2 separate regions of the Homo sapiens genome follow, and region 2 is linked to region 1. The links are contacts of gene promoters, found by promoter capture Hi-C in human tissues and cell types (Jung and others, 2019). All regions are on one chromosome and are shown on one strand. Each heading gives the region's core, a stretch centred on a gene start or on the middle of the fragment in contact. The rest is flanking DNA. Distances are from core to core; before and after follow the strand shown.

What was found. Contacts are between HindIII fragments. The study calls those that stand out against the background at their distance.
Region 2: a fragment that was not itself captured here is called in contact with the fragment with the promoter of FTCDNL1 in region 1 in 1 of the 25 tissues and cell types used here (aorta).

What each region holds. Positions count from the first base shown.
Region 1 is chr2:199,848,424-199,853,024 of GRCh38, forward strand. It overlaps FTCDNL1 (formiminotransferase cyclodeaminase N-terminal like), which reads right to left and starts at 2,769. Exons shown (of 5, transcript NM_001363886.2): 1 at 2,317-2,769; 2 at 425-546. The coding sequence starts at 539. RefSeq lists a silencer at 2,550-2,829 and an enhancer at 2,661-3,235. The HindIII fragment of the contact is 10,346 bases long and covers 1-4,601 here.
Region 2 is chr2:199,892,134-199,896,603 of GRCh38, forward strand. The region is part of intron 2 of LOC101927687 (a long non-coding RNA gene); the gene reads right to left. Among named protein-coding and RNA genes, the nearest start is that of C2orf69, 17 kb to the right of the region's middle. The HindIII fragment of the contact is 9,555 bases long and covers 1-4,470 here.

The sequences.
Region 1 (4,601 bases), core at 1,519-4,018:
TATTTGGCAAGTTTATTTTTCATTTAATCTGCTCAATAAAAAGCATAAGGTACGATTATGCTCATTCTATTAATGATCAAATAAACGACCCATGAGGGAAACATTATACTTTTATGTAAATACATCCTCCCCAGGAGCCTGTCAATATCCTGAACAACACGCATCTCAGAGATTCACACGCAAATGTTAAGAGCTGCGCTGCTGAGCGTATGCAGACATTTGGAAAAGAGCATATGTGCACATCTGAGTAACTGAGCTATCTCAGTATCCTGGAGTTGCGCAGAGCTGCAACAGCTCAAGAGCAAGGAGGAAAATTCAGGAAGAAAGAAAGAAAAGTGTTCTGTAGATACAGTGTGCACAGTACAAAAATTACTAAATTATCAAAACACTATAATATTCAGCTTCAATTGTCTGTTTTTCCTACCATTTTTGTCAAGAAGAGCTGCTTTTGCTATGTTCTCAACAATGTATTTTCTTCCGGCTTCTGAAACGTTTAGTAAACAGGCAGCCAAACGGAGCCCCACTCTGGAAGAAGACATGATTTTTCTGGAATAGGAGAAAAATTTTTATGTGTCTCTAGAGTTGATTCATATTTTCATGTTTTAACTATAAAAAAATCATAACTTTTTGGAAACGAAGCAGTCATAATATGAGCACTTTACTATTTCATTCCTAGAAAAATTCTAAAGCATAAAATCTCCAGATTGACTAAAATAAGAAACCATGTGTACATGGTCACATACATATAAACCTTGTAACGACACTGGAAAATACCTGGCAGGGTCCTCAGCGTGAATTTCATCATGTAAGTGAAAGTTTTTCATTAAAGTATGTTATCCCATTTTAAGCATAGTTTTCCTTAGCCTTATCCCTGTTTTCAAGGTCTGTACTATTTTACAAACAGGTATGTTTTTTTTGTTGTTAAACTAGACTTAGTGGGGAAATGCAGAAAAAGAAAATGAGGAAGATTATTTAATATGTGGATTCTTATAAAAGAAATTCTTGCAGCAAAAATGAAAGTGTCTACAGGCCATGCCATGGACATTATACAAATAAATAAGGAAGCCATTTGGATGGTTTACATGACAATTGTCTAAGTTCCTCCTTGTTCCACCAAAGTTTCTAAATCAGTTTAAAGTCTTTTTACAAAATTCTGTAACTTGAAAGATGATACATATTCTGATACATATTATTCAATAATATCAAAAATGTGATTTTTGTTGAAAATTAATTATACAGGTTTTGGAGGTTGCTTTGATACTTTTTAGTACTCTAGAATAGCATTTTTGACACATCTTTCCATACTTCAAATGATATTCATGATCTAAAGGAATTAAAACATCTTAAAATAATAAGAAAATAATTTCCCTCTTCAAGTTCAGGACCTCATAACTTTGGTCTCTTTTAAATACCATAACTAAAAATAGATGAGGCCCTCATGAATTCATTCAACAAATATTTAATGAGGGTCTTTTTCTGACAGGTAATGTTCCCTGTGTGAGGGATACCAACCACTGTTCCCTGTGTGAGGGATACCAACCACAGTGGTCTAACTCTGAGACACGCGTTAAACTTTAGAGTTTAAGCTAAAAGTGCTCTGGTGCAAATAATGGTGCTCTCCCTCAATAAATCCACTGGCTTGTTCGCCAGGATCATTCGTTGGCCTAATCATCTTAACCTAGAGAGAGCTCAGGCTTCGTAGCTAGCTCAGGTTTGCAGGCAGGTTTTCATATCATGTCCATCATCTCATCACTGAAAATTCATAAAAATTCTGTCATTAGGTTTTTCTAGATATTAATAACATTGTTGTAATAAAGCAACCCAGACCTCTCGTTTCTATGTAAACAAAAAATTGCTTTACACAAGGGGTGTGGGCGTCTTCTGGTTTTCATTTGTTTTCAGTGTGTTTATGCAGCTTAATTGTCTCATCAGGCACTTTCCCAACATAATTATGCTTTTTAACAAATGGTGTTTATGGCAACCCCTAACAGTGCAAAAGAAAGGATTAGTTTCATCCTCTCATTCCACATTTTGATTCCCTGTGGACAGCTAAATCACACAAAGATGGTGTTAGAAAAATTCACCTTCACAGCGAAGCTGAAATGAGCGGCAGTACCAGGCTCAGAAAGTGACCCAAACGCAAGCCCCCCAAAACACTCTGTGTTTGGGACAGGGAGATCCTAGTCCTCCCAGCTCATCCTTCAATTACCATTGGATGACCTCTGGTGATAGATTAAACACTCGGCCGTCCCCCGCCCCCGCGCCTCCCCACCCGCGGAGAACCTAGCCTAGCAAGTGCAAAGTGCAGCAGTTCACCTGCCCCCTGCGCACGCACCCCACCGGCACTTGGAGGCCGCAAGGACGCTCGCCAGGCTGCCGCAACGCGTGCTGGGGCCAGAACCCCGCTGCTGGGATTCCCTGCGCGGTGCCGACTAGGTTCCTGGGTGGAGTGTCCCAGGACCACGTGGGCTGAAAGGGAACCCGAAGTGACTCCCGGCCTCCCCACAGGTCTCGCGGGACGCAGCAGCGGCGAGGGCGCGGGGTTGTGGCGCCTGGGAGCGAGGGGCAGCCGGCGGCTGCGCTGCCCCGGCCGAGCTCTCGAACCAGCGGCCGCGCCTGCCGCTCTGCGGTTTGGGAGGGGAGCGGACCTGCGAGCGCCGAAGGGCGGTGGGGCAGGGCGACCGCCCAGCCCAAGTCGCCGCCGCGCGTGGCCCGCGCGCAGCCTCCGCCGCCGCGCGTGGCCCGCGCGCAGCGTCTGCCGCCGGCTCCGCCTCCCGGACGCCCGGAGCGCGCCCCACCCCAGCCGCACACCGACCGGGCTGGCTCTGCCTCTCCCTCCCTGACCCGGCACCACGTGCCTGGCGTCCTTGAACGCTTCAGATTTTTATCAGTGTTGCCTTTTCGTTTGCTCTTCCGTATCGCCAGACCCTCCACAATTCTCTAGTCAATTAATGACTTTAAAGGGGCATTGGCATCTAATGATCAGGTCTTTGCCTATTGATCATGCACCAGCAGGGGGCTCTTCTCTCGTTTCCTTGGAAGGGACACACGCACTCACACACACCCTTCTGGTAAATCCCCTCCTGGAGGATTAGTGCCCCCCGTGACTGTGAACTGGACCCACCCCGGGACAAAAGCAGTCCTTGCGCATACCCATTTAGTCAAAGTTACAACGAATATGAATCAGGCTTCCGCATTTCCTTTTTTTCTAGGCCACTCAACCTTGAAAACACATTTCGCTTCCAAAAAATCAGGACCTGCTTTTTTTTTTTTCGTGTAGCAAGGATTAAATGTCACCATTTTGATCCAATTTTGTTCCTGTAGTGAAATAATCACTAAATAACTACTTTGACGGAATAAATTAATTTTTAAATCTATTTTTTATTTTCTAATTATAATTTTTAAACACAGATTTGAGGAAATTAACATTTATGTGGACATTTGGTTTCTAGCCTAATGTGGCATAAAAATAAGTAACATAATGAGTGTTAAAAAAAATCAGGTTCATGATGCTTCTCACATCATCATCATTGTACTTAGATGTCACAACAGTATTATGTGCGATTATGTCAGATCCAGCCTTCTCCATCTCGGAGTGTTGGCAGGTAGGAGGGTTGTTGGCAAGAGGAGGGGTGTTAACCTCAGGATCCTGGATCCATTCCAAGGCTGGTAATTACATTCTGCCAGCCAAAATTCATCCCATAATTTTAATTGGATAAATCCTTTCTGGCCTAAGCTACTGCTATGCCTGTCAAACTGTTGCCACATTTCACCCCAGAGGTGTCTGTGTTTTAGTTGCAAGAATCAGTCCCTTTGAGGTTGGCTTATCTGTTTAAATCCTCAAAATGCACTGGGATCCTATGGAATTAAATATATATTTAGGTATTTTTTTCTACTAAATCTGCATAGAAGTGCATAAAGTAGATACATACCCATGTTATTACCTAAAGACCAATACCTATCTAATGTCAGCATTCACTAGATAATTTTGAGAGCTTTTTAATCAGACCAATATTCCTAACTTTCTTCATCTTCTCTTTTGAGAGCTTTTTTGGCCTCTAGCTTTAGCTTCCGTTTTCCAAAAAAAGTAATGTGGTGTCCAAATGTTCCTTCCATGGTAGGGCAAAGAACCAGAATCCCCTGTATTTCACCTTTCCAAACAATCGGATAATGATACTACTTGCCAAATGAGACAGCGTAATAACATTACATCTAATCTTATAATATTTCTCCAGAGAAAACAGTGTGACACCTGGGGGCTTCATGGTTCTAGCTGTAGAAACTGCCAGAAGGAAAGCTTTTCCCCCCACAGCTCCTAATCCTCTCTTTCTCCCGAGAGACTGTTCCTTACGGAGCTACAGGCTATGGGGGCATTAAGTAAGATAACATTTCTGAAAGCATCCCTTTCTCCACTCTACTCACTTCAAACCCAAATGGAGAGAAAGCAGGGCCCCAGTGTTCTTTGTGGGGGGCAGCATCCGGCCCCTGCCTGAGGAGGGTAAGCATGTATTTTTGGAAAATACAAGGAGACACATACCAACCTGTCCCATGAGAAGTTTAGCGATACGATTGAAAGTATTATTTTGTTCTCTTCAAGAATG
Region 2 (4,470 bases), core at 828-3,327, 43 kb after region 1:
TGGTGGGAGTGTAAATTAGTTCAATCATTGTGGAAGAGAGTGTGGTGATTCCTCAAGGATCTAGAACCAGAAATTCCATTTGACCCAGCAATCCCATTACTGGGTATATACCCAAAGGATTATAAATCATTCTACTATCACACATGTACAAGTATGTTTATTGCAGCACTGTTCACAATAGCAAAGACTTGGCAAATGCCCATCAATGATAGACTGAATAAAGAAAATGTGGCACATATACGCCATGGAATACTATGCAGCCATAACAAAGGAAGAGTTCATGTCCTTTGCAAGGACATGGATGAAGCTGGAAACCATCATTCTCACAAACTGACACAGGAATAGAAAACCAAACACTGCATGTTCTCACTCATAAGTGGGAGTTGAACAATGAGAACACATGGACACGGAGGGGACCATCACACACCAGGGCCTGTTGGGGGTTTGGGGACTAGAGGAGGGCTAGCATTAGGAGAAATAGCTACTGTAGATGACGGGTTGATGGGTGCAGCAAATCACAATGGTATGTGTATACCTAGGTAACAAACCTGCACGTTCTGCACATGTATCCCAGAACTTAAAGTATAATAAAAAATAAAAAATTGGGCTAGGCGTGTTGGCTCACACCTGTAATCCCAGCACTTTGGGAGGCTGAGGCATGTGGATCACCTGAGGTCAGGAATTCAAGACCAGCCTGGCCAACATGGTGAAACCCCATCTCTACTAAAAATACAAAAATTAGCTGGGTATAGTGGTGGGTGCCTGTAATCCCAGCTACTCGGGAGGCTGAGGCAGGAGAATCACTTGAACCTGGGAGGTGGAGGTTGCAGTAAACCGAGATCAAGCCATTGCACTCCAGTCTGGGTGACAGAGTGAGACTCTGTCTCAAAAAAAAAGAAAAAAAAGTTAAAAATTAAAAACCCTTATTCCATTGATACCCTTTTCTGAGGAGGTTGGAATCAACCCAACTGAGAGAATGAACTGTGGAGATTGCCAGTTGTGTAGAATGAACAGTTTGTCAAGGTGAATCAAATATCTCATAGCTAGTTTGAAAGGAAGGCAGATGTAATCTTGAATGATTCACACAAATTCATAAGGTGTTAAAGGCATGAAAATAAATTTTAAAATACTTAAAAAAAAGGTGAAGGAAAAAACCGCTTCGACGTGGGAGGGCTGCAAGAGAAGCAAGGACATCAGAGCTCAGGGCAACTTCCATTAATGCAAGAAACCTCAGGAAAGAGGTTGAGGTCATACGGTGTTTTGTTGATCGCAGAGTTAGACATGCTGGGTGGCATTTTGGAGATCATGATAAAAGAATTTGGAAGCTAAGGAAAAGGTAAATAGGGCATTATGCACCTTGTACCCGATTTACAATTCACATAGAATCCAACTCCGTGAGTTCTGCAACATGAAGACCCTGGAGGTTGTAATTGGAGGAATATGAGAATAGGCATGTTGAGGATGCTTGGCCCAAATGGAGATTAACAGAGGTAGAGATGTGAGACAAGATAGAACTATGTCTTACAGTCTCTAAAAGGAGGGTGGGACTTTAACTTTAAGGTATCAATATTTTTGTTTGTTGATAATGCAGCTTGAGAGCCAGCATTCACGATGGCTTCCCCAAGAAGTACTAAATCCTGAGATTCTTAGTTTCTAAATATTTCTCTAGTTAATCCTCTTTTCCCACTCCCCTCTGTTACTGCCATAGTTCAGGATCTCATTTTCTTTCCCCTGGGGTTTTGCCGAAACCAGAGTCATTATTTGCTATGCCCCCATACGCTAAACTCGTTATTTTCCCACAATGTCAATTTAACTGGCATTTTCTACCCATGCCATGCCTTCCTACCCCCACATGCCTTTGTACTTGTTCTCTTCTCCTGCCTTGTCCTTTCTCTCCTTGTTTTCCAGGTAACAACCAGTCTGATTTCTGCCTTCAGGCCCATTTTGAATACCATTCTGTAAACACTTTTTTGACTACTCCCACCACTTTGATTTTACAAACATTACAATTCCTCATCTGTGTCTCTGCTACTTTGCAGAAGTGATTTGTATTTGTTTCCTCAATTATACTATAAATTCCTTGGGCCAAAAATTATTTCTTATATATGTTTCAGTCCAGTCTTTCATACACAGTAAGTTCTCACTAAGAGTTTGTTGAATAAATAATGTGATGCATCAAATGACACATCCATTTCTGTTTTTCACCAAAGGGTATCTCTAAATATGTTTCCTCTTTACTTTCTCGTTAACATCAAAGGTAGGTGGTCCCTCAATTCTCTCTTAAGTTCAATCATAAACAAAGCCCTTACTCCCAGGTTTTTTAATCCAAGTGACTTTATCAGTTCTTTCATTTTCTTATTTATCTCCACACTCTCTCCTTTTCAATTTGCTTTATATTTTCTGCTGTCAAGTATATCAGGTTTCAGTTATTCATCCACAGGATCACCACCTTGACTCTGCTGCTCCTTATAGATACTTCATTTGTGCCAGATCTTCCCGCCAAGGCGAGCTGTAAAAGCATCTGTTTATTCTTCTTGTCCATCAGGTAATTGTGAGATTGCACATACAAAAACATGCACAGAAACAAAAAGTACAAATCTTAAAGAAGAAAGGAAATATTTTCCTAATATTCAGTAATTTTGAAAGATTGCTGTACAAAAGCTAAGCCAAATTTTAGAGATTACTATTTATTTGGGCCCATTTAACATTTAGACAAAGGCCATCTTCCTTCTCAAGCTGCGACTAATAAGCTGTAATGAATCTTTGGTCTTCTAGTCAAACATATAAAATCTAGAGAATGGAGAGTTATTAATTTTTATGATAGACCCTTGAGAACCTGATGAAAGGTATATACAGTCTCACCCCAGGAAAAAACATACTGTAATTTTTTAGTTAGTTCAGAGGTTCACAGATCCTGTGAAGCCTAACCATAGATCCAGATGTAAAATCCTCTCATCTAAAAAGTTAGCAGTTATTAGAGATGGTTTAAAGGTTTCCTTTTTGCTAATTTTTATTTTCTAAGTTTCATAAAACAAAAATTATTTGTGTTAAAATATATATATATATTTTAAAAATAAGCCCATGCTATATGATATGCATAAAGGATCTTGTAAAATAAATTCATCATGTAGTGAACTTGTCAAAGACTGACAGGTTTTGAATGAGGCATGACTATAATACAAGGCACTTAGTTTTACCATCTGTAAAATGGAGTAATTAATATTAATCAGTCATTATGTCATATAGGTTAATACTTGCAAAATTCTAATAATTGTGATTTTTCTATGCTCTCCCTGGGTAGTCTCTCTGTCATTTAGATTGTAATTTTCTTCCCTAGTCTTGAAGCAGATATAATGCCACAGCTGTTTCTTCAGCTATTCTGTTTTCTGTGAACAAACACCTGCTTAGACTGTACCTAAGGAGTTATTTGTTTTTTGATAATTAAAGCACTGCTATGGTGATGGCCGACATCTGGATTCACTTTTAAAGACTTTGTTGTGTTTTTCTGGCTCCTGGGAGACTCATGAAGTATAACGCATTAGATGGAAATGTGGTGATGTGCTTCATTTTGCAACAGCAGTTTTACTCTCGCTTTGTTATTTCCCTACTGCAATGAGAGAGAGCTGCCACTCTGCTTGTTGCTGCTAAGAGATTAGGGGAGCTGAGCTGAGCTCTAGAAATTTAATATGCTATATAATGCCTGATTCATTTTGATTCTGGCTTTGACTTGATAAACTCACTTGGGACTGCTATAAAGAATCAATATTGGCCCGCTGCCACAGTGGCTCATGTCTTAATCCCAGCACTTTGGGGGGCTGAGGTAGGCGGATCACTTGAGGCCAGGAGTTTAAGATCAGCTTGGCCCACATGGTGAAACCCCATCTCTACTAAAAATACAAAAATTAGCTGGGGGTGGTGGTGCATTCCTGTAATCTCAGCTACTCAGGAGCCTGAGGCACGAGGATTGCATGAACCCGAGAGGCGGAGGTTGCAGTGAGCTGAGATTGTACCACTGCACTCCAGCCTGGGTGACAGACAAGAGAGGGTGCATAAAAAAAAACAAACAAAAAAAACCCCAGAAACAAAAGAATCAATATCCAGGGATTGAAAATTTGTATACATTTGTATTTGTATAAACTGGTTTTAAGATAATTTCTTTTGGAGGACAAAAAACGTCTAAGGTCTCCAACTATTTCCAACAGTAATAGAGAAACTTGGCAAAAATATCCCCATATTATGTATAATTTCCTTAAAAGATACATTCTTCAATTTCTGCTCAATAATAGTTCACTAAACTTTTCTAGAGTTTGTTTTCCAGCATTATGCACCTTTGTTTACAGTGATTATAAATTATATAATTACTCCCTCTACCTTAATATTCTTCTTAGCCTGTTACAGGTAACAGTTCTTCAAAGGAAGAAATATGTTTTCAGTCAGGACTCACAGTTGTAAGTAACAGAAGCTAATTCT